6 separate regions of the Homo sapiens genome follow, and regions 1, 2, 4, 5 and 6 are each linked to region 3. Evidence: promoter capture Hi-C in 16 types of primary human blood cells and fetal thymus (Javierre and others, 2016). All regions are on one chromosome and are shown on one strand. Each heading gives the region's core, a stretch centred on a gene start or on the middle of the fragment in contact. The rest is flanking DNA. Distances are from core to core; before and after follow the strand shown. Region 1 holds the start of TRV-TAC1-1 (tRNA-Val (anticodon TAC) 1-1). Region 2 overlaps MRPL16 (mitochondrial ribosomal protein L16). Region 3 holds the start of TNKS1BP1 (tankyrase 1 binding protein 1). Region 4 overlaps OSBP (oxysterol binding protein). Region 5 overlaps PATL1-DT (PATL1 divergent transcript). Region 6 overlaps STX3 (syntaxin 3).

What was found. Contacts are between HindIII fragments. The CHiCAGO score rates a contact against its expected background, and 5 or more counts as called.
Region 1: a fragment that was not itself captured here is called in contact with the fragment with the promoter of TNKS1BP1 in region 3 in 4 of 17 cell types (total CD8 T cells, activated CD4 T cells, non-activated CD4 T cells and 1 more); the score reaches 7.5 in total CD8 T cells.
Region 2: a fragment that was not itself captured here is called in contact with the fragment with the promoter of TNKS1BP1 in region 3 in 2 of 17 cell types (naive CD8 T cells and naive CD4 T cells); the score reaches 6.8 in naive CD8 T cells.
Region 4: a contact is called between a fragment that was not itself captured here and the fragment with the promoter of TNKS1BP1 in region 3, in 1 of 17 cell types (naive CD8 T cells). The highest score is 6.6, in naive CD8 T cells.
Region 5: a contact is called between a fragment that was not itself captured here and the fragment with the promoter of TNKS1BP1 in region 3, in 1 of 17 cell types (total CD4 T cells). The highest score is 6.5, in total CD4 T cells.
Region 6: a contact is called between a fragment that was not itself captured here and the fragment with the promoter of TNKS1BP1 in region 3, in 1 of 17 cell types (naive CD8 T cells). The highest score is 5.3, in naive CD8 T cells.

Annotation. Positions count from the first base shown.
Region 1 is chr11:59,547,901-59,551,731 of GRCh38, reverse strand. TRV-TAC1-1 (tRNA-Val (anticodon TAC) 1-1) reads left to right here and starts at 1,031; the gene lies at 1,031-1,103. The region is part of intron 3 of LOC102723575 (a long non-coding RNA gene); the gene reads right to left. It overlaps TRV-TAC2-1 (tRNA-Val (anticodon TAC) 2-1), which reads left to right and starts at 673; the gene lies at 673-745. TRR-TCT3-2 (tRNA-Arg (anticodon TCT) 3-2) reads right to left here and starts at 438; the gene lies at 353-438. RefSeq lists enhancers at 558-1,059, 1,215-1,434. The HindIII fragment of the contact is 947 bases long and covers 1,812-2,758 here.
Region 2 is chr11:59,806,082-59,810,129 of GRCh38, reverse strand. It overlaps MRPL16 (mitochondrial ribosomal protein L16), which reads left to right. Exons shown (of 4, transcript NM_017840.4): 2 at 210-275; 3 at 2,281-2,429; 4 at 3,298-3,990. The coding sequence ends at 3,783. Among named protein-coding and RNA genes, the nearest start is that of MRPL16, 2.7 kb to the left of the region's middle. The HindIII fragment of the contact is 1,415 bases long and covers 894-2,308 here.
Region 3 is chr11:57,323,048-57,326,830 of GRCh38, reverse strand. TNKS1BP1 (tankyrase 1 binding protein 1) reads left to right here and starts at 1,879. Exons shown (of 12, transcript NM_033396.3): 1 at 1,879-1,991. It overlaps SSRP1 (structure specific recognition protein 1), which reads left to right. Exons shown (of 17, transcript NM_003146.3): 16 at 1-128; 17 at 353-843. The coding sequence ends at 424. RefSeq lists enhancers at 713-1,586, 1,616-1,665 and a silencer at 1,796-2,075. The HindIII fragment of the contact is 11,807 bases long and covers 1,312-3,783 here.
Region 4 is chr11:59,609,096-59,613,110 of GRCh38, reverse strand. OSBP (oxysterol binding protein) reads left to right here. Exons shown (of 14, transcript NM_002556.3): 2 at 2,522-2,730. Among named protein-coding and RNA genes, the nearest start is that of OSBP, 4.7 kb to the left of the region's middle. The HindIII fragment of the contact is 1,607 bases long and covers 1,245-2,851 here.
Region 5 is chr11:59,673,470-59,677,264 of GRCh38, reverse strand. PATL1-DT (PATL1 divergent transcript) reads right to left here. Exons shown (of 4, transcript NR_187296.1): 2 at 3,578-3,689; 3 at 2,292-2,338; 4 at 1,224-1,868. Among named protein-coding and RNA genes, the nearest start is that of PATL1-DT, 6.1 kb to the right of the region's middle. The HindIII fragment of the contact is 507 bases long and covers 1,401-1,907 here.
Region 6 is chr11:59,759,166-59,763,332 of GRCh38, reverse strand. All of the region lies in intron 1 of STX3 (syntaxin 3), which reads right to left. Among named protein-coding and RNA genes, the nearest start is that of STX3, 5.9 kb to the right of the region's middle. The HindIII fragment of the contact is 2,301 bases long and covers 771-3,071 here.

The sequences.
Region 1 (3,831 bases), core at 1,036-3,535, 2.2 Mb before region 3:
TTAAAGCAACTCGGGTAACACTAGGCGACTAAAGTTTCGGAACAATTTAAAATTACTTTTTTTCCTGATATAAAAGAATAATATGGGGAAAAAACTTGGTAACTTTGATTATATTTCCCTAATTTCTTTATCTCGCCACTAGAAACTGGGGCCAGGTAAAAGTGAAGGAGAAAAGGCTCGATAGAGGAACGGGATTCTTTACGCCTTCAAGTGAAGGGACATAACCAGGAACTGCAATTAGCTGCAATTCACATCATTCCGGAAATTTTAAATGGTAGACAGTTCTCGTTTCATCTATTTTATATCCATTCCCTCCGCCTAACTTTCCGTTTGCTCTTCTTCAAACAAAAAGCGACTCTGGTGGGACTCGAACCCACAACCTTTGAATTTCTCTAACTATCTAGAAGTCCAATGCGCTATCCATTGCGCCACAGAGCCAGACACGTGCGACCTCTCCGCGATGAACACATCAGGGGAGGCACTTTCTTTCCACAAGTAAGTGTGGAACCTTTGTCTCTAAAGAGAGCGTGGGTAGGAATTACACTGGAAAGTCTGTAATCCTGGTGAAAGTTTCTCTTTTCGTGATCGCTGAGCAGTAAATCCCTTTCAGTCCACGTTGTTAACATGTCTTTATGCAGAATTGCTAAATCCAGAGACAGCCATTCCGCACGCGGTTCCATAGTGTAGCGGTTATCACGTCTGCTTTACACGCAGAAGGTCCTGGGTTCGAGCCCCAGTGGAACCACGGCGTGATTCATACCTTTTTCTTTTCTTTCCTTTCTTTATAATGTTTAGTATTAACATTTTGCGAGCCCAATCGTGGGTTTTGGTTCAGGAAGCTGGAGACGCAGACATTTTGACAATGTTTCTGTGCGGTCGTGCTCCTCTGAATACTGGAAAATGAGGAATCCTTTTGAAAGTTTTTCTCTGTGCACAATCGCCGGATGTCAAGTCTACATGACCATTTCCCAGTGCCAAAATGTCTTTTTGAACAATTATCAAATCCTGGAGGAACGTTTTAGTCGTGTGGGGTTCCATAGTGTAGTGGTTATCACGTCTGCTTTACACGCAGAAGGTCCTGGGTTCGAGCCCCAGTGGAACCATGAGATGTTACCTAGCGTTTTGTGAGCCAGGTGTTGGGTTTTGCACCAGGAAGCTGGCGACGAACCCGTGTCTCAAGAATTTCTACGGCTTGTTTCCCGCCTGCTGCATCAGCCCGGTTTCTCTTAGCGCTCGGCGCTGAGTCGGCCTCCGCGGCGGCCCCCGTATGGCGCCTCTCTGGAGGTGCAGGCGGCTCCGCTCCACCGAGGCTTCGCTCGCCCCTGCGCCTGCGCCTTTCCACTACCTGGCCAGCCGGCTTCTGGGTTCCTGGGTGTTGCCCCTTGGCTCACCTACCTTCTCCTAAGCCTTGCTTGGGCCATCTCTAAAAATTGCCACCACTAAGTCGAAGGACATCACGAAGGCCGCCCTCATACTTTATTTATTTAAATTAAAAATGCTTTTTGAGGCCAGGCGCGGTGGATCATGCCTGTAATCCCAGCACTTTGGGAGGCTGAGGCGGGCGGATCACGAGGTCAGGAGATCGTGTCCATCCTGGCTAACACGGTGAAACCCCGTTTCTACTAAAAATACCAAAAAAATTAGCCAGGCGTGGTGGCGGGTGCCTGTAGTCCCAGCTACTCTACTCGGGAGGTTGAGGCAGGAGAATGGCGTGAACCCGGCAGGCGGAGCTTGCAGTGAGCCGAGATCGCGCCACTGCACTCCAGCCTGGGAGAGAGCCGTCTCAAAAAAAAAAAAAAAAAAAAAAAGCTTTTTGAAAAATTAATTTCATGCACAGAATTCAGAATCCCTCCACGTATTTCACAACTGATGTTTCCATCCCATCTTTCAATGGTTAGCTGTTTCTTTTGTGACCCTTCAGAAATTGTCTATGCATTCACCAGTATACACGTACATTTACTTTAAAACCCACTTCACGCTTTTTGTACGAAGGTAGCACACATAGGTACCGCTCCCATTTCCTCAACAATATTCTGAAAATCTTCCTATTTCGTTCATACATCTTCGCTTATCCTTTTACTTCCTGTGTTTGGATATATCACAATTCTTTATGCCTTTTGATGAACACTTAAATTGTATCTAGTCTTAGGAACAATGCTGAGCAGATTTCCTTGTTCCTTGGTTTCAGGCAGGGCAATATGTAAAATAATCCTAGCAAAACCTTGAACAGGCACTTACATGGGTAGCTAACTTAATGTTCACAATGTCTCTATTATTATTTATCCCGTTTTACAGACGAGGGAGAGGAAGCATAATGAGATTAAGAAATGGCCCAGGGTTACACCCCTGGTCAGGGACAGAACACAGTACCAACCCAAGCAAGAAGAGTGTTGCCTTTATGTCTCAGAAGAAATTTAATTGATGGCTGGGCGCACTGGCTCACACCTGTAATCCCAGCACTTTGGGAGGCCGAGGTGGAAGCATGGCTTGAACCCAGGAGTTTGAAACCAGCTTGGGCAAAAAAGTGAGACGCCCTCTGCAAACCCGTCCCACCAACCTCCCTGCTCGTCCCCACCAACCCTGCCACAGCTCCTTTCAAAACAGCTTGTATCAAATTACACTCACACCAATATGAAAGCCCTTGTTCTTCCTGTCTCTCTCAAATGAAAATAACTGAATTTTGAGTCAGCTGGAAATGGTTTATTTTGTGTTTTTTTATTGTGAGTTAGGTTGAACGTTTTTCATGTACTTAAAAGCTTCCTTTCTTCCTACTATCTGTTCACCTCTTTTGTTCAATTTTCTTATGTATATATTCTGTTAATTTATGTTTAAATTGGTTTTTAGGCCGGGCGCAGTGGCTCACGCCTGTAATCTGAGCACTTTGGGAGGCCGAGGAGGGCGGATCATGAGGTCAAGAGATCGAGACCATCCTGGCCAACATGGTGAAACCCTGTCTTTACTAAAAATACAAAAATTAGCTGGGTGTGGTGGCATGCACCTGTAATCCCAGCTACTCAGGAGGCTGAGGCAGGAGAATCGCTTGAACCTGGGAGGCGGAGGTTGCGGTGAGCCGAGATCGTGCCACTGTACTCTAGCCTGGTGACAGAGCGAGACTCCGTCTCTAAATAAATAAATAAATAAATAGGTTTTTAGGTGCTCTTTGTAAATTCAGATTTAGGATATATTTTGCAAATGTATCCAGAGTTGCCATTTGTCTTTTGATTATATTTTTGATATTCCGTGCGATGTAGAAATTAAACATTTTTTTGAAGTCAATTTCATCATCTTTTTGGGGGGGGTGCAGGAGAGGGGCTTTTAACATTTCCTGCCTAGAAAATACTTACTCACTTTGAGATTATATTTCAAAAATTATTCTATATTTTCTCCTGATTGTTGTATAGTTAAACATTTTCTAATGTTTCAACCTTCTGTCAGAGGCCTTGGAACCAGAGCAACTGCATCTTGAATAGGGGCTGGGTAAAATAGGGCTGAGACCTACTGGGCTGCATTCCCAGGAGATTAAGGCATTCTAAGTCACAGGATGAGATAGGAGGTCGGCACAAGATACAGGTCATAAAGACCTTTCTGATAAAACAGGCTGTGGTAAAGAAGCTGGCCAAAACCCACAAAACCAGGATGGCAAAGAGAGTGACCTCTGGTGCCCTCACTGCTCATTATATGCTAATTATACTGCATTAACATGTTAAAAGACACTCCCACCAGCACCATGACAGTTTACAGATGCCATGACAATGTCAGGAAGTTACCCTATATGGTCTAAAAAGATGAGGAACTCTCAGTTCTGGGAATTGTCCCCCACTTTCCCAGAAA
Region 2 (4,048 bases), core at 352-2,851, 2.5 Mb before region 3:
GGAGGCTGAGGCAGGAGAATCTCTTGAACCCGGGAGGCGGAGGTTGCAGTGAGCCGAGATCGCGCCACTGCACTGGATCCTGGGCGACAGAGTAAGACTCCGTCTCAAAAAAATAAAATAAATAAAAATAAGAAGTAGTACCTTTGGCCCAGGTTGTATCGGGGTCCCGGCCTGTTACCTTCGTCGTTTAACTTGATTTGTCTTTGTAGATTCCTGGGCACTCCTCCCCGCCAGTGCTGGCGTAAAGACACTGCTCCCAGTACCAAGTTTTGAAGGTGAGAGCTTGTCTTTCTCCTGTTCGTAAATCTTTTCTCTGATGGAAACCAGGAGCGGGTGGGAGATGACATAGGAATGTTCTCGTGTTTCCCATCCCCGTTCACTCTTTCAATAAATATGTTTTTAGAGCTTACAGTTTTGCCAACTAATATTCTGAGCACTAGAAATAAATCAAAGACAAAGGAAACCAAAAAAGTTCCTTGCTCTTACGGAGCAGCGTCTAATGAGATAGCTCCCCTAAAACCTCCCACTGGTGTGTGTCCCATGGTCCACTCAGCCAGTAGTCATTGGCCTGAAATCTGGATTTTTGAGCGGGCATGGTGGCTCACGCCTGTAATCACAGCACTTTAGGAGGCGGAGGCGGGTGGATCACTTGAGGCCAGGAGTTGGAGACCAGCCTGCCAACCTGGTGAAACCCCATCTCTACTAAAAATACAAAAAATTAGCTGGGCGTGGTAGTTTACACCTGTAATCCCAGCTACTCAGGAGGCCACTGCACTCCAGCCTGGGCAACAGAGTGAGACTCTGTCTCAAAAGAAAAAAAAAACCTGAACTTTTGATGTTCTTTCCAAATAAGTTTACATATATGCAGTCATCTAACGATATGTGAAAAAGCTTTAATTTGTTAAATTTAAGCCACAATATCGTAAAACTAGTTTACTTTTTAAAAAAGAAATATACTGGAACCCTCAAAAAAAATGAATAGGGTCTGTACATCTGAGGGTCTTCTGTACAGAATTGTTAAACCACGTTTTGAAAGTACATTTTGACTTGTAGGTGAAAGAAAGCATTACTAAGATTCTCTGTAGCTACATATAGAAGTTGAGGGGCAGCTTCTGAAACTCTGATAGTAATAATTTGGTATTTCCTCAAACTCTTCTATTTTGTATTTGTCTCCATTATAAAGCCATACTTGGTTCATTTAAGAAATTTTTAAAAATGATTTGTATGTTAACTTTTTTCCCCAAATCGTCAAGTAAGGATGATAAAGAAGATGTCACATGTCTGGCCTGAAGTTTTGCCCACCCACCAAAACCTGGCACACTGACCTGTGCAGGTCTCAGCATGAAAAGTCCCTGCATATATGAGAGAAAGAGCATTGATCAAAGGATTCCTAGGTTGTAAGTTTCTCAACAAGAATGTGGCAGAGCTGGAGAACTTAGATATTTTTATGTACAATATAGTATTCTTCCACTACCCCCATTAACATCCAGAGAGGCAGGGAAATATATGTATATATTTTTGTGACATGGTATGTAGCTTTGCTGTTGAACTGGATGGCATAGACCAGATTATAAAGTGTTTTTAGCCCTCGGGTTCCTCTTCTATAAAATGGAGATTAAAAATACTACCTGCCTAATATCCTGTTTGTTGATCTGGGTAATAGTGGTGTGTGTTCATGTGTTCACTTTCTGGTAATTCACTGAGCTGTATATTTTTAATTTGGCCCTTTGATATAGCTGTGTTAAACTTTGACAAGTTTAAAATTTTTAAAAAGAGAGCCCTGAAAGAATACCAAGGCTATAAAGTTATTTTAAAGATTAAGTGAACTAGTGGTTTCCAAACAATCCCTGTTACAGTGTTAAGCACAGAGTTGGTGATTAATAAGTGCATTTGGATTCAGAGGATAAAACTTTGCTATCTTTAAAGTTTTAGAAACATTTGCATTAGCCACTGTCACAGCCAGAAGATTCCAGTGTCACTAAAAGCATCTGCAAAAATGTAATATACCTTTACAGTTACTGTTCAGTGGTAACTTTAAGACTTTCAGGCTGGATATGGTGGCTCGCACTTGTAATCCCAACACTTTGGGAGGTAAAGGCAGGAAAATCACTTGAGGCCAGGAGTTTGAAACCAACCTGGGCAACATAGTGAGACCCTGTCTCTACCAAAAAATGAAGAAGAAAGAAATTAAGACTTTCACCTGTTATAAATCTTTCTAGGAAAATAGATCTTTTGAGATGTATAGTTTTACTTTATCCTGGTTGTCTGTGCTTCTTTTAGATGTTTCCATTCCTGAAAAACCCAAGCTTAGATTTATTGAAAGGGCACCACTTGTGCCAAAAGTAAGAAGAGAACCTAAAAATTTAAGTGACATACGGGGACCTTCCACTGAAGCTACGGAGTTTACAGAAGGCAATTTTGCAATCTTGGTGAGTGAATTCAGCATCGAGCAGCAATGGGATGGAAGCTAGGGAATAACAAAATCTCATACTCCTTGAGATAATTTAGTCTCTTCCTCCACAGTTTTTATTAGAACTGCCACCAGTTGCTCTTTAAACTGGTATGTACAGAGGCTACTGGGTACCCAGTAAACATTTGGGTTATATATCTTTTTTTTTTTTAATGTAGAGTGAAAATAACGTAAAAGCAGAAGGAAGGGGCTAGCTAATGTGCCCCATAATCAGATCATGAGATCTTTTCAAGCCCTGGTAAAAATAAAACCATCCACAATATAGGATGTGGAAGACAGCTGTTTCCTTACTTGTTGAGTAGCTTCCATGAAGACTTGATGTCAGCAGCCACACAAATGGGTGTGCACTAGGATTTGTTTTCCACCAGGCAGCCAGAGTGATATTCCAAAGTCCTCTTCCTGCAGCCTACATAATCACCCCCACTGACCTCTCAGAACCTCCTGCCCACTCTCCCCATTCCTCACCCTACTCCAGCCACATTGGCTTCTGTTCAACTTGCCAAGCCCTCTGCTGTGCCAGGGCCTCCACATAAGCCTTTCTTATGCCTGGCACACTCCTCTCTTTTCCCTTGGCTAGTTCTTTTTATTCTGGTCTTAGCTTTAGATGTCACCTCTTCAAAGAAGCCTTCCTGGCTCTCCACTGAAATGGGTCCCCCTTCACTCTATTACTGTGTACCCTAGGCTTTTCCTCCATGGGACTTATTAGAACTTAGATTTTTATTTTCAATTGTATCATTGAAGCCACAGTTACTAGAAGAGACAAAATAATGAGCCCATAGATGATGTCGAAGTCCGCATGTGTTTCTAATTCTCCCATTCACTTTTAGGCATTGGGTGGTGGCTACCTGCATTGGGGCCACTTTGAAATGATGCGCCTGACAATCAACCGCTCTATGGACCCCAAGAACATGTTTGCCATATGGCGAGTACCAGCCCCTTTCAAGCCCATCACTCGCAAAAGTGTTGGGCATCGCATGGGGGGAGGCAAAGGTGCTATTGACCACTACGTGACACCTGTGAAGGCTGGCCGCCTTGTTGTAGAGATGGGTGGGCGTTGTGAATTTGAAGAAGTGCAAGGTTTCCTTGACCAGGTTGCCCACAAGTTGCCCTTCGCAGCAAAGGCTGTGAGCCGCGGGACTCTAGAGAAGATGCGAAAAGATCAAGAGGAAAGAGAACGTAACAACCAGAACCCCTGGACATTTGAGCGAATAGCCACTGCCAACATGCTGGGCATACGGAAAGTACTGAGCCCATATGACTTGACCCACAAGGGGAAATACTGGGGCAAGTTCTACATGCCCAAACGTGTGTAGTGAGTGTAGGAGATAACTGTATATAGGCTACTGAAAGAAGGATTCTGCATTTCTATTCCCCTCAGCCTACCCACTGAAGTCTTTGGGTAGCTCTTAAGCCATAACTAAGGAGCAGCATTTGAGTAGATTTCTGAAAAACAATGTTATTTGTTGATTTAAAAAGAAAACTGTATTTTTATTAAATAAAATTTAAACATCACTTCAGGATATAACTTCTCATTGGTCATTCTTAATCCCTTAAAAGATTAAGAAATAGGCCTCAATG
Region 3 (3,783 bases), core at 630-3,129:
CTAGGGGCTCATCATCCAAGTCGTCCTCAAGGCAGCTAAGCGAGAGCTTCAAGAGCAAAGAGTTTGTGTCTAGTGATGAGAGCTCTTCGGGAGAGAACAAGAGCAAAAAGAAGAGGAGGAGGAGCGAGGTGCGGCAGGAATGTGGGGCCTGTGGGCTGGGCAGGGTGAGGGGCATGTGTGTCTGTGTGGGGTTGGTCTGTAAGAGTAATGAGTTGGAGTGGATGGTGGAATTCTGAGGTTCTGAAGGGGGGTGCTGTAGTTGGGGGCGGTAGGGAATTGCGGGCCCTTCACTGAAGAGTGGGTGGGGCACCCAGGACTCCAGCTTTTCCCTTAAGACACCTTTGGTTTTCAGGACTCTGAAGAAGAAGAACTAGCCAGTACTCCCCCCAGCTCAGAGGACTCAGCGTCAGGATCCGATGAGTAGAAACGGAGGAAGGTTCTCTTTGCGCTTGCCTTCTCACACCCCCCGACTCCCCACCCATATTTTGGTACCAGTTTCTCCTCATGAAATGCAGTCCCTGGATTCTGTGCCATCTGAACATGCTCTCCTGTTGGTGTGTATGTCACTAGGGCAGTGGGGAGACGTCTTAACTCTGCTGCTTCCCAAGGATGGCTGTTTATAATTTGGGGAGAGATAGGGTGGGAGGCAGGGCAATGCAGGATCCAAATCCTCATCTTACTTTCCCGACCTTAAGGATGTAGCTGCTGCTTGTCCTGTTCAAGTTGCTGGAGCAGGGGTCATGTGAGGCCAGGCCTGTAGCTCCTACCTGGGGCCTATTTCTACTTTCATTTTGTATTTCTGGTCTGTGAAAATGATTTAATAAAGGGAACTGACTTTGGAAACCATGTCCTCATGCTTTCTTTGTAGCCTTGGTGTGTTGCTCCCACTTTTATTGGTGGTGTTTACTGCTCTGGTCAGACTGGGCAGGGCCTTCCTGGCCAGCCGGGAAGCAAGTCTCGAGGTACATCCTGTTCTGTTCCCGGCTGGACGAGCATTGGTTTTCACCCGCCTCTGCCCGGATGGGCCACCTGAGAGTCTAGAAATGAGAGCTGATCTGATTAGGAAGTTTCTCCCAGTTACACTCCATTAGCCAACCAAGCTAGGGGGAGGCAGCTCTTGGCTGCATCCTTACCTATGAGTCAAGGGTCTTCCAAGGCTTTCGATAATGAAATCAGGATTGACTGTCCTTCCCGCAGCCGGGGGAGTGGAAACCTGAGCCTGGAGAGTCGGGGAGGATGAGCGTGTGCGTAGAGTGGTGGTGGTTGCAGCCTGGTGGTGGTGCAACAAAGTACGGAGTTATATGTGAAGCTTTTGTTCTTACGGGAAGAAGGGGGTATACAAACTTCAGTGTAGGGAGGAACCCATGTCTGAGAAGGGGCCTAAAAGGAGATAAAGGTCACTAATGAGGAATGCAGAGCTGCCAGACTTCTTCACGGTGGCTCTAAATCTGAATTGACACAGGAGGGTGGCCACGTTGCGCGCGTTCTCAGCACTCAGGTGGTTGTATCAGGAAGCCGCTTCAGTCAGCCGGCGGCTACCTTCTTGCCGGCGTAGCTCGATGATACTGTGCTCTGTGCAGGCGGCGGAGCCCGGGAGGGGCCGCCAAGGCAGTTTCTCTAGGCAGTCGTCTCGGTGGCCATTTTACCCGAGCGCTCCCGGCTGAATTGCGTCAGTTTCGCCCCGGTCTGAGACTGGGGCGGGCCCCTCATCTGCAAGCCTCATGAATAATTGAGTGCTGGGCCGCGCCTGTTTGCCGACGGTGGGACGAATTCTGCACGGGCTTCCCACTCCCGGGTTCCAACCGGCTCATGCATATTCATGAAGCGCCCTGGGGGCGTGGACCTGGGCGGAGTTGGGGCGGGGCCCCGCCGGGGCTCGCAGTGGCTTCGTCCCGCGGTGACGGCGGCGGCGGCGGCGGTAGCAGCGGCGGCGGCGGCGGGGACTGGCATCGGGGCCCCGAGCCGAGCGGAGCCGGACCCCGGGCGAGCGCGTGAGTGCGCGGGGGCGGTCGGGCGAAGGAGGGGGCGGGGTCCGGGATGGGGCGGGGGAGGGGCATGGAAGGAGTGGGTGCTTTCCAGCCGACACCTCGGGTTGAGGTGGTGGTGGTCGGGGGGTCACCAGGAAAGTTTGCAGGGGCCGAGGGCGCTGGGGACGCTGGAGGCCCGGGGGAAGGTGGCGCGTGTGCGCGGAGGCGGAGGGCGCATGGCTTGGAGCTCGTGCTGGCAGAGCCAGAAGAAAGGGGGGAGGGGGCGAGGGCTTGGGGCGGGGCCGGGGGCGGGCAGAGCCGCTGGAGGGACCCCTGCCTCCCCTTCCTCCGGGCCGCGCTAGCCCCCTCCCCCGGCTCCTTCGGCACGCCCCCAGCCACCCCAGTCCGCCCCCACCTGATCGACGTCTGCAGCCCACCGTCTGTTCGCCGGCTGCTTCACAGCCCGCTCACAGGTCCTCCGCTTCTGCCGCCACCGCAGCCCCCTCCTCCTCCTCCTCTTCGGCTGCCGCCGTCCCTTCTGTGTCCAGAGCTCCCCACTGGGCCCCTCCAGACAGCCCATTGCCCGGGGCTGTTCCATCTTCCCGTTGGCCCTCCCTCTTTCCAGCAGTTTACGTGCTGTCCCTGCCGACCTCTCTAGCCTCGGATCCGGCTGGAGATCCTGGGGTCCATAGGGGCGACCCCGCCTGCGCCGAGTCCCCTCCGGGGCTGGAGCTGCCCAGCCCTTCTGGAGGCCTTATCTGCCAGGGGTCAGCTCGTTTCTACCCTGCTACCCTCTACCCCCTGGTCTCTTGAGGGTGGGGAGTGCTCAGAACCGCTGCGAATCGCAGCTTCTGGCCACAGCCTTGGTGGCCTTGGTCACCTGGGGCCCCTGGCTGGGGTCTCTGAGTTGCTGTGGCCACCTCCGCACCTGGGGACTCTGAGCCCGCCTTCATTGCTGCAGCCCCTCATACCGCAGAGGGGCCCATCAGAACCCCAGGTGAAAGGATTTTTTTGGTTCTGAGCCAATTAATTTCCATCTCCAACCACCCACACTATGTTCCTAGTAATAATGTTCAAGGACAAGGAAACAATCTTGTGTTTTAATTTTATTTTTTCTATCATGTGCCCCTCCCCCCACCACACTTGGCCTGGCTCTGCACAGTTATTCACCCACCCACAGTGGGCAGTCTTCCGTGGTGGTTAACTGACCAATGGGTTGACAGTACTGGGTTTCTCTACTGTCTTCATACCCTCTCCCATCTTTGAAACACCTGGGGCAGGGTCAGCGTTAGGGGAGGGGTGTTGGATTTTGCAGAGGATGAGCACTGGGGGTCCCTTTTAAGGATTTGGTGCTGTCTTCCCAGACCAGCTGGAGTGGGTGACTTTAAGTGAGGCAATGCCCCTTGCAGGTTGGAGAAGTTTGGGTTGTCCTCAGGGCTCTGCATACCAGGTGAGGGAAACTTCCGCCTTGCATGAGAGGTGCAGGGCCCTATCCCCCAGGGTCTCCATGTTTTTGTGGGTGGGAGAGTGCTTCAGGAGTCAGGATGGGAACTGAGGAGGTGGTTGGAGTATCTGAAGAACAGGTGACAGGACTAGGGCCTGGGAGAGTGAAGGAATGGTCTGGGAATGCTGGTAGCCTGGGGTCAGGGAAGAGGAGGAGGTGGTTATCAGGGATGTTAGCTCATTGGTGACACTGAATGGAATCACAGTAATAATAGGCAACATTTGTTGAACACTTATTATGTGCTAGGCATTGTGCTAAGCCTATTTCATGTACTATTTCATGTAAGCCCCCTCAGGGTCTCAATAATCCCAT
Region 4 (4,015 bases), core at 799-3,298, 2.3 Mb before region 3:
TTCTTCTGGTCCTCATCTTCCTCCAAGAATTATTTAGACAAGTTGTCATTCCTCCTGCTTTTCATACCTCCAAAACCTGCAGTTTCTTATATATGCTGTTTCCAAAATACTGTTTTCCTTTTAAGTGGGATTGTGTACTTCCTAGACCCATCCTCGGATGAGCTGTCCTAATAGGCCTTGGCAAACCACTTCCTTTACCTATCCTGGGCTTCCTTACGTACCCAGTTACTTAGATGTCCCATTACTTAAAACCTTATATGGAATCCCAACTCTCCCAGAAACATTGTGACAGGCCATAGTATTAGTTCTCCTGGCTAGCTTCTAGAGATTGAATTACTATTTCAGCTAGCCTTTTCAGGGAAGAACTTTCTGGCCAGAAAATACCACCTAATATTGTAGTGCCTGAAGAACCTATCTTGTACCCTGAGATTCATGTCTTTCCAGCTTCTGCACTAATCATTTATAATCATAAGTGTATCTGCCCAGACTCAAGAGCTCCGAGATCAAGTCTGCCTTACTCCCAGAGTTCCTTGGTATTTTTTAAACTGCTACAGACTTTTTGTAATTTGAGAAACTTCTTTAGTTTACAATGATGACCCAGGCAGAAGAGATTCCTACAATGATGACCCAGGCAGAAGAGATTCCTAAGAAGTGGTTTCCAAAAAGCTCCAATAAGGAGGAATGTGGAGGAAGGTCCAAGTAGTATACTTGGAGTAGAAAACATGAGCGAGCTGGCCTGTCAGCTGTGCATCTGTAATTCAGCCTGCATTATTCATAATGTAACTGAAGCTTGGGGGTGGGGAGGTAAGAATAGAAAAAACGGATTCATGTTACAGTGTGGCAGGTGCAGGAGATGGAAAATGGCCCAGTTCATTGAGACCCTTCTGGCCTTCCCATACTATTTGAGGAAGGAAGAGCAGTTCATGTGAAAAATTGAACAACAAACCTGTCTTCCAGACTTTCTCAAACATACCAAATCTTATGGGGTGTGTGCCATTTCTGGCATGCAGGAATTCTGGATATGCCAGGTGTGTTTGGCTGCTTGACTCCACTGAAAGGGAAATGGCTCTGCTTTGTACTGTGGCAGTTGGCAAAGGACTTTGACCTCTGTGTTCCAATTTGGACAGGGAAAAGTGCAGTCTCAACATGCAGGTTCCTGGGCATAACCAGCGGGTGGTAGGGAAATGACACAGTTTGTGTTAGACACTCGATTGTGCTAGAAGCTTGATATTTTATGTGAAGCTTGGTATTCTATGTGAAGTGTCTTATAGCTTGTTGTCACCAAGTAATGCTGTAAAGTTCAAAAGTTAGTCTATTAATAGAACTGTCAGTCACTAGAGATCGGGAAAATTTTTACACCCAGTTCTCTGAGAGCAGATCTGCTGAATCTTTCCTAGCTATTAATAGACGGCTTAGGAGTTCCCACCAGTAGAGTATGGTGGACCTTAGGAATGAACATATTCCAGAAAGATTAAAACACTTGGTGATTCCTTTTTACTTCCCCAGAAAGCTAGTTATTCTTATTTCATATCATTTGAACCATAGCCAATATTTAATACTCTAAACATTTAAGGGTGCTTTTTTTACACTTCTGCGATATAACTCTAAGCATGATGTAACATTGGGCTGAGTTCTCATTTGGGCTGAGTTACAGTCGGGAGCGAGATGGTTTGGTATATATAAAATAGAGCTATTCTTAGGAAATGAGATTGTTGCATGAGGTTATAGGGCAATTTATAATTACAACTTGCTAAGTAAAAGATAATTCCTGACTGCAAAAGGGCATGAAGGAACTTACTGAGATGATAGAAATGTTCTACATCTTGATTGTGGTGGTGGTTATGCACTTGTGTACATTTGTCAAAACTCATTCAGTTGTACCTTTAAAATTGCTAAATTAACATTGCATGTAGTTATACCTCAGTATAGCCTATTTCTTTCTTTCTTTCTTTCTTTCTTTTTTTTTTTTTTTTTTGAGACGGAGTTTCGCTCTTGTTGCCCAAGCTGGAGTGCAATAGTGGGATCTCAGCTCACTGCAAACTCCGCCTCTCAAGTTCAAGCGATTCTCCTGCCTCAGCCTCCTGAGTAGCTGGAATTACAGGCACACACCCGCACGCCTGGCTAATTTTTTTGATTTTTAGTAGAAACAGGGTTTCACCATGTTAGCCAGGCCGGTCTGGAACTCCTGACCTCAGGTGATCTGCCCACCTTGGCCTCCCAAAGTGCTGGGATTACGGGTGCCCGGCCTGTAAAGCCTATTTCTAAAAGGAAAATGGTAAGAGGGACAGCAAAGCAAAAAAAAAAAAAAAAAATCTGACTCAGAAACAACACTTATAGGCTCTGAAGGGAAATCCCCACTAATTGTTTCGTGAATTTTAGGGACCCGTTTGAGGGACTAGAACTTGCTGATTCCTAAGACTGTCATATTTTCAGGGAGCTCAGAGTTATGAAAAGAAATGGAATGTGATAAAGGATAAACCGTCAACTTTCTGTTTAAATTGTCTTTGTCTTGTTATTACAGATCAAAGGCAGAAATGAGACATACCTGCCGTGGTACCATCAACCTCGCCACAGCCAACATCACCGTGGAGGACTCCTGCAACTTCATCATTTCCAATGGGGGTGCTCAGACCTACCATCTGAAAGCTAGTTCAGAAGTTGAGCGGCAGCGCTGGGTGACGGCCCTGGAACTGGCCAAGGCCAAAGCTGTGAAGATGCTGGCAGAGTCAGGTCAGGAACAAAGAACACCTGCCTGGGGAACTTTCTTTTTGCCCCTTTTATGCACAGATTTTGTTTGTCATCATTATGCTGTGTCATTTGATTATCACCTATTTCCTAGAGGTCTCAAGCTTCTCGTCTTCATGCAGTATTTCTGCTGGAGTGATGGTTCTCAACCAGGGTTGATTCTCCTCCCCAGGGGACATTTGGCAATGTCTGGAGACATTTTTGGTTGTCACAGCTGAAGGGAGGGAGGTGCTATGGCATCTAGAGAGTAGAGGCCTGGGATGCTGCTGAACCTCCTATAATATACCAAACAGCCGCCAAAACAAAGAATTATCTGGCCAAGGTTGAAAAATTCTGTCCTAGAGGCGTAACAGTTGTTCTTTTGCCTTTTAATTGGCTACCTTAAAATTTTGAGAAATAATTATTTTATTGGTGGGCCAGTCTTGGGAATATTATTCCTCAGAATTTGGATCTATTCGTGCTTTTTCTCCTGATACCTTCTTACTTAACTCTTTGTTAGTTAAGTTGAAACAATTTTAGTAGACTGCCAAAAACTGTATATGTGATATTTTCTATGAAAAATCTTCATTTTGCTGCATTGGTTAACTAAAAGGAGCAATCAAGTTAAGTTTTGATTATTCTTCAAGGAAAATGGTACGATTTTCTCCTGATATATTGATAGTTTAATCATACTGAGCTTGTTTACCTAGAACTGACCAAGATGGTCATCTGCTGACTTTGTTATCTTATCCCCTGTCATTTCCCATACTGTATGTTCATTCATCAGTGAAAGGAGAATTCACTGGTTTGTAAATTGTTTGGTAGTAAGTTATATTTTGACTTTGGCCCCGTCTCTCTGTCTAGCAGAAAGGACAGGTCTTTTGTCTTTTTTTTTTTTTTTCTTGCTTTTAGTGCCGATGTTAGCTCCTCCAAAGGAAGTGACACTGCTAGAAAAGCACTTTGCAGTTACAAAGTGTTGAGTGTGAGAGGTACAACATAGCTTCTGTACTTGACTTATTATTGGAGAGCTATTTAAAGTGAGTTTTTGCATTCTTTTCATGGTGGCTTTAGTCATAAAGTTTCTGAGCTCTCTTTCAGAAGACAAATTAATGGCCTTTTTTGTAATGTGGACTTTGTCTACAAAGAGCTAGACTGTGATTCTCAACTCATTTAATACAGGTCCCATCAGTCACCTATCAGATGATAGTGGAGTTGCAAAAATAGTTAGCTTGGACTAGATAGGAATCATCAAGCTAGAGTTAAGGAGCTCAGTAATTAATTCCCAATTCCA
Region 5 (3,795 bases), core at 405-2,904, 2.4 Mb before region 3:
GACAAAATGGCCTTATATTATTGGAAGAAGATACCATCTAGGACTTTCAATGCCTAGGTTCAAAGCTTCAAAGGGCAGGCTGACTCCCTTGTCAGGGGCTAGTGCAGCTGGTGACTTTAAGTTGAAGTCAATGCTTATTTGTCCTTCTAAAAAATCTTAGGTTCCTTAAGAATTATGCTAAATCTACCCGGCCTCTGCTCTGTAAATGAAACAATAAAGCCTGGATAGCAACAGCACATCCATTTACAGCGTGATTTACTGAATATTTAAAGCCCACTGCTGAAACCTACTACTCAAAAAAAAAAAAAAAAAAAAAAACTGGTTTATTTTAAAATACTACTGCTCATTGACAATGCAGCTGGTCACCCAAGAACTCTGATGGAGATGTACAAGATTAATCGTTTTCAGGCCTGCTAACACAACATCCATTCTGCAGCCCACACAGCAATTTCAACTTTCAAGTCTTATTATTTCAGAAATACATTTTGTAAGGCTATAGCTGTCATAGATAATGATTCCTTTGATGGATCTGGGCAAAAGAAATTGAAAACCTTCTGGATACTTCTGGATGACTAGATAAAGGAAAACAAAACAAAACAAAAAAACCTGGAAAGGATTTACCATCCTAAATGCCATTAAGAACATTTGTGAAGCCAGGTACAGGCAGCGTGGCGAAGCCCTGTCCCTACAAAAAATACAAAAATTAGCCGGGCATGATGGTGCCCGCCTATAGCCCCAGCTACTTGGGAGGCTGAGATGGGAGAATGGCTTGAGCCCAGGAGGTGGAGGTTGCAGTGAGTCGAGATCGTGCCACTGCACTTGTTTGCCCCCTGCCCGCAAAAAGAACATTTGTGAGTCATAGGAAGGGGTCAAAGTATCAACATTGTCATGGAAAAACTTAAACTGCATTTGTCCTCTGCTCTCACACCACAACAATCAACACAGAAGACTTCTGTGACCAAATATATGGGGGATTTTCCCCACCAACAAGCAGTGGAGACCAGCTGGGTATCCTCCAATTCGATTCTGACACTACCTGGAGATATGTCAGTTCCCACAGGTAAAGGGCTCAGTCCCCAAGATTACTCCCTCCTCCCCCCAGACACCAGTTGCAAGTCCAGGTCTCTGGAACTTCTGATCAATCAGCTTCAAGTTGAGGTTCCCATGACCCCCTCTTTGGGTTCAATAATTTGCTGGAGTGGCTCACAGAACTAAGGAAACACTTATATTTACCAGTTTATTATAAAGGATATCACGAAGGATCCAGATGAAGAGATGCACAGGGAGAGGTATGGAGGAAGGGACACGGAGCTCCCATGCCCTCCCCAGGTAGCCATTCCCCAGAAACCTCCACTTGTTCAGCTATCAGGAAGCTGTCCTCTTGGATTTTTATGGAAGCTTCATTATATCAGCATTCCTTCCCCCAGGCCATGGGTTGGGACCCTCTCTGAAATGAGTCTTATGATCCACAATTATAAAAGCAGAAGATTAGAGTCCTGCTTTGGGGTAGGTGAAAGGAAGGCAGGTAAAAGGAAGGCAAGAGAAGGTCAAAGAGATTCTGTTTCCTGTGTATGAAAACCTATATGTATATATATTTCATAACACTACAAACATTAACAGGACTTTGGAAGAAGTTGATTCCAACCCTCATGGATGACTTTGAGAGGTTCAAGACTTCGGTGGAGGAAGTCACTGCAGGTGCGGTGGAATACCAAGAGAACTAGAATTAGAAGTGGAGCCTGAAGATGTGACTGAATTCCTGCAATCTCATGATTAAACTTTTAACAGGTAAGGAGGTGCTTCTTATGCATGAGAAAAGAGTTTCCTTAAGATAGAATCTTCTCCCGGTGAAGATGCTGTGAACATTGCTGAAATGATAATAAAGGATTTAGAGTATTACACAAGCTTAGTTGATAAAGCAGTGTTTGAGAGAATTGCCTCCAATTTTGAAAGTTCTAATTCATGGGTAAAATGCCAAACAGCGCTGCATGCTACAGAGAAACTTTTCCGTCATGAAAGGAAAAGTCAATCGAGGTGGCTTACTTCCTTGTCTTATTTTAAGAAATTACCATAGCCACCCCAACCTTCAGCAACCACTGCCTTTATCAGTAAGCAGCTATCAACATCGAGGCAAGACCCTCCATCAGGAAAAAGATTAAAATTCGCTAAAGGCTTAGATGATCATTAGCATTTTTAGCAATAAAGCATTTTTTAATTAAGGTATGTACATTGCGTTTTTAAAGACATAATGCTATTGCACAGTAGGCTATAATATAGATATCACTTCTCACCATTTTACATAATAGATTCTCGATAAATACGTATTGAGTTGAATCCCCTGCAAAAAAAAAAGTTTAATAGTTTGCCAAAGTATAACTTTCAAAAAGCTAAATAAAAATTATTCTCTTTCAATTACATTATGAGCATGTGTCAAAATATTTATTTATCTTATTAATGAAAAGAAACAGCAAGGTGGTGAAGCTGATTCAAAGGAGGACACAAGAAACTATGAACTATATAGTGGGGGAAATGGCTGAATTAAGACTCAAAAGTTAAATATATTATTGGTTAATGTCCTGTGTGGCAATAAAACTGTCTCCTTTGAGATGATCTTTCCCACCAAAATGAAATTATCTCCACTGGACAAAAATAATTTGCAACTTGTTAATCTTCTATAAACTAATATCTAACTTTACTGAGTCTGGGATCTCATTAATTAATAATAAACACTAAGTCAAACAAGGTTACCTCTCTGTAGAACTTTAAATGACCTTTAGGCAGGCTTGTTAGATAATGTTCTTATTACAACATTGCAAGGCACACAACAATCCTTTTTCCTTATTTCCAAGTTTTGTATAATTTTTCTAAACGGACACATTCCCACTATCTATTAGTGAGCAATAAACTACTCTAAAACTTTGTGGTTGAAATGTACATATATATATATAGCCACATGTGGTGGCACGTGCCTGAAGGCTTGGCTACTGGGGAGGCTGAGGTGGGGGAATGGTTTAAGCCCAGGAGTTTGAGGTAGCAGTGGGCTATGATTGCACCATTGCACTGCAGCCCTCTCAAAAAACAACAAACAAACAAAACAAACAATACAATTTGTGGCTTAAAACTACAACCATTTTATTTTATATATATATATATAATATATATAATAAAGTATTTTATATTTTATATATATATATAAAATACTTCTATGGGCCAGGAATTTTGGAGCAGCTTTGCTGAGTGATTCTTCCGCTCTTTATGGCATGGAATGGAGTCACAGTGTTTGGCTGGTAGCTGAACAGGTGTGAAGAGTCCAAGACAGCTTCATTCACATACCTGGTGTCTTGACTGGGATGGTTAATAAGCTAAATAGAGCTGGACCCACCTTCCTCTTTATGTAATTTCAGGGTCCTTCCATGTGATCTCTTCAGCAAAGCAGCCGGGTATTTTACATGGACTTACACTGCCAATCTTCTTAAAGGTGACCCAGAACTGGCAGAGCATCTCCACTTCCATATTCCATTAGTCAAAGCAGTCATAGCTCAGTCCAGATTCAAGGAAAAGGGAACATAGATCTTACCTCCTAATGGGAGAAGTAGCAGGGTGTGCTGGTTTGCGCCTGTAATCCCAGCTATGCAGGAGGCTGAGGCCAGGAGTTTGAGACCAGCCTGGGCAACATAGTGAGACCCTGTCTTTATAAAAATAAAAAATAAATAAGCTGGGTATAGTGGTGTGTGCCTGTAGCCCCAGCTATTCAGAAGGATGAGGCAGGAAAATCACTCGAACCCAGGGGTTTGA
Region 6 (4,167 bases), core at 672-3,171, 2.4 Mb before region 3:
ATGTACACTAACAAGGAATCTGTGGCTAGGAAGGTTAATTCATCCAGAATCACACAGTAAGGAACACAGCCAAGATTAGAAACCTGGGTGGTCTAATCCAATGTTCACTCCTTCATTAACTCAGAGAGGCATCTCAAGGTCTCATCACCCATCAGCACAGCCACAATGTTCCATGCAAAGTAACAGATTCATTTGTTCATTCTTTCATCCGGCAGTATTTATTGCACATCTAACATCTGCCAAGCAACAGTCCATGCGATACAATACCACATGACACGTGAGGACAGTGCTTTAGCCCAAGGAATTACACACCCAAGAGAAGACGCAGTGCCCAACCTTGCCTGAATTCAAGGTTGAGCCTGGGGAAGATGGAAGCTTATTAGAGAATGTTGGCAGAAGTGACTCCTTGGAGAAATTTTGTGGAATGTGTGGATTTACCCAAATGAAACCTACAAGAAGGCCACTCAGGGTGAGGAGATCAGACCTTCTTCCTGCTTTCTTTCTCATCCCAGGAGCCATTCAAGGAGATTCAAAGAAGGCCTTCTTCTTCCTCCTGGAGATCTCAGGTGTCCTTTAGATCCTTCCTCCTCCACCCCACACTTCTTCCCTCTCTTCCACTCCCTTCCCCTGTCTCCTGTCCTGGCCTCTGGACACCACCATGGCATTCAGTTCTCAAGGACACAGAGAGGAGGAAGAAAGGAACTAATACTGTCTTACTCCATCCTCAGCCTTCTCCCCAACCCCTCCTTTCAGCCTCTGTCCCACAAGCTTCCTCTCCCTCATGGTCATTCTAGAATACTTAAATAACAGTGACAACGCGCAACCTTCATTAAACACTCAACATGTGCTGAGTGAGGATCCTTCTAAGATGTGTGCTTTCTATTGACCATGACAGTTAATCCCTAGGCCAGTCTTCTGGGGATATTCCCCATCTTACAGCTGAGAAAACTAATGCATAAAGACACCAAGCAACCTGACCAAGATCCTGCAGACAGTGGGCACCTGAGCTAGGAGGGGTGCCTGGGCAGCTGGCTGCCGGGACTTTGTCCTCAGCCATCTGGAGTGTTGCCTCTTAACGGCTGCTCCACCACCACCCTAGCTGTAGCATGTAGCACTGGCCACAGGAAATGTGCTTCCAGAGCACTAGAAAACAGATGCCGGAGCCCTGCCGCCAAGGTCACAAAAAACAAGAGACTAAGCAATTGTCAGACAGGCCAGAGGAAGCTAAGGAGATGTGACAACCGAATGCAATGTGGTGTCCTGGATCGCATCCTAGAACAGAAAGAGGACATTAGTGGAACAACTAGTGAAATCCAAATAAAGTATGGAGTTGGGTGAATAGTAATGTACCAATATAAGTCTCTTAGTTTTGCTAAGTGTACACTGTAGTATAAAATGAGACCAAGTGAGGGAACCAGGAGAGGACTAGACAGGAACTCTCTGTACTATCTTTGCAACTTTTCCATAAATCTAAAAGTAGGCTAAAACTTAAAAATTTATTAAAAAAAAAAAAACCCTGATGCCATACTGAGCTGTCCTAACCCAGACAGCTGAACATAACCAGACAGTATTTGCTCCACTAATCTCTTTAGGTGGGGGGTTGAACTTCACTCAGTTTCCAGATGGAGACTGGGGAAAGTTGCCATGGAAATGGTCCAATGCCAAAAAGCAGGCTACCCTGAGAGAGGAGATGGGGTGGGGGCAGTTGCAGAGGGGCCTAACATAAAGGTGGCTGGAGGTAAGGCCCCTCAGGGACTACAGAATCTGCGGGCAAATAAATTTACAGAATATCCCCATTCATTGACAGGACAGTTTGGTTTACAGCTTTACAGGCTTTGGGCTGGGAAGGTATAAGAGAGAATGAGACATATGTGGTCTGTGCTCTCCCAGAGCACAAGAACTAACAGAGCCAGTGGCATCTGAAATTGCAATACCATGTGGCTATTTGTATACACCACCAAAAGTAAAGTTTGCGGGGTCCGAGGAAAGGCATGCTCAGTGCTGTCAGCCTGGGAAGCTGGATGACACTGGAACTGAGACTTTGGAGATATGTAGGATTTTGCCAGGAGAAAAATGGAGTACCTAAGTTTTCACCATGGTAGCCACATCTTCGCCTTCATTGTCTTTCTAAATAGGGGCAACCTTCCATGTCATCTTGGGCTAGGTGTTTAGGTGTAGTTAGGAGCCTTGGAACTCCGTCCTTGGGGATGGACCTGTAAGGTCTGGCTTCATTAGCAAACATATGGATTCCCTCAGTAAATGTTCCACTTCAGGTAGGTAAAGATTCACCAGCCCACAGGGAATGGAGCAAGAAAAATAAGTCATAATAATGAGTAAAGGATGTGTAAGGGTCAAGCTGTTATTAATCAACTAAGAGACAAATGTTTAATACAGGCTTACCATGCAGAGTGCTAGGCCCTGGGGCTCCAGAGGACTATCATAACTGCTGTTGCATCAGAGGCATATAGTGCAGTTAGGGAGATGATCGAATACAGTGTAAGGGGATACGAAGAAGCAAGACACACACGTTCAATTCTTGAGCCCACCACTTCCCAGATGGGGATCTCAGTCAAACCTGAGACTCAATTCCTTCACTTGTAAAACGAGAATAATATCTCAATTCCTTGCTTGTAAATGAGAATAATATAAAAACCCACTTTGCTTTGCAGGGTTGAGAGAATTAGAGACAAGGTATGTAAGGTATGTAGCACAAGTCTGTCCAATAGTAGCTGCTCAATAAATGATTGTTGTTATTGTAATTGATGTGGTGACAAGAAGTACTAGAAACACTGACCTTAAAGACAAAAGGACCTAGAAGATAAAGGGGATAAAGGGTCTAACTTATAAAAAGCAACGGACAGTGGTTTCAAACCCACTCCATGGTAATTAAAAAAACAAAACAAACAAACAAAAAAAAAAAACCCACAACCTACTGCAAAGCAACATGCACCCCGTGAGAGCTGCAAGAATGGAGGAGAGTATTCTAAGTTGCAGTTACAGAACACTACTACCTATAAAAAATGAGTTTTGGAAGATGGGTAGAAATTTTGACAAAAGGCAGGGAGGAAGCTTTGGAAGAGAGAGAGGACAACATGAACAAGTGTCCCTCCCTTAGCTCCTGCCAATTCCCCCGACTTCCCCCACACTCACAGGAATAAAAATAAAATTAATCCTCTTCTCTCATCCAAGCATTTTCTGGCCTCCGGCTGATGGGGCTGTAATCCCTACTCAATCCCCATCACTCTCAGCTCTGGTTCCCGTCTGCTCACAGAAAAACAGCTCTTCCAGAGAATGAATCCTCCCAGGTACAGAGAAGAGGGGAGGCAGGAATCCTGACTTGAATGAAATTTTATGACTAGAGAAAGACAGAATCTCAGTGAAGCGCAGATTGGTATGTTAAGGTTCAGTTATGATCCAAAGCACCTGGCACATAAAAGCGGCTCGATAAATATTTATTAACAAATTAAGCTTTAAAGGAGAAGTACACAGCTCCATGTTGCTGATGGGGTTATAATGTTATCCTAAGGAACTATGATTCCACAAAGATCCTGGAGCTTCCAGTGGGGAAGGAGGCCAATAACAGCCATTTAGGAAGCAGCAAGACACAGAGAGAGTAAAAAGTTAGTCTGGCCTTTAGAGCCCCAGGTGGTTGATTTCATTAGTGTGTCCTTATTAGTGCTGGTCTTTGAAGGGCCATTACATCCACGTCATTTCCAGTCCTCTACAGATCCGTCTCCAAGGGAGTCCAAAGCCTTCAACCTCTATTCCATACATCACTGGCTTCTCCATTACCACCATATGGCTTTGATTACTGTTGGCCCTCTTGTCATATACTACATGTCTTTGTCTTCCCTATGTGATCATTTACCCTTTGATACTAGGACTTTGTCAATCCTGCCTAAACTTGACGCCCAGCAGGATGCTAGGCACACAGAGGTCACAAAGCTCTGATCATGGTGGTCAGCAGGTACCATGCACATGCGACCCTGCTGATGCTCCCTTGAGTTGTTTATATGCTTGATGGTTTATACACCAATGCGAGAGTGATTAAGACAATCTAGGATCCTTGCCTTTCTTGTTAAGCCTCAATTCACTCACTTGCAGAATGAGAATAATAGAAAAACCCACTCTGCTTTGCAGGGTTGAGAGGATTAGATACAAGGTCTC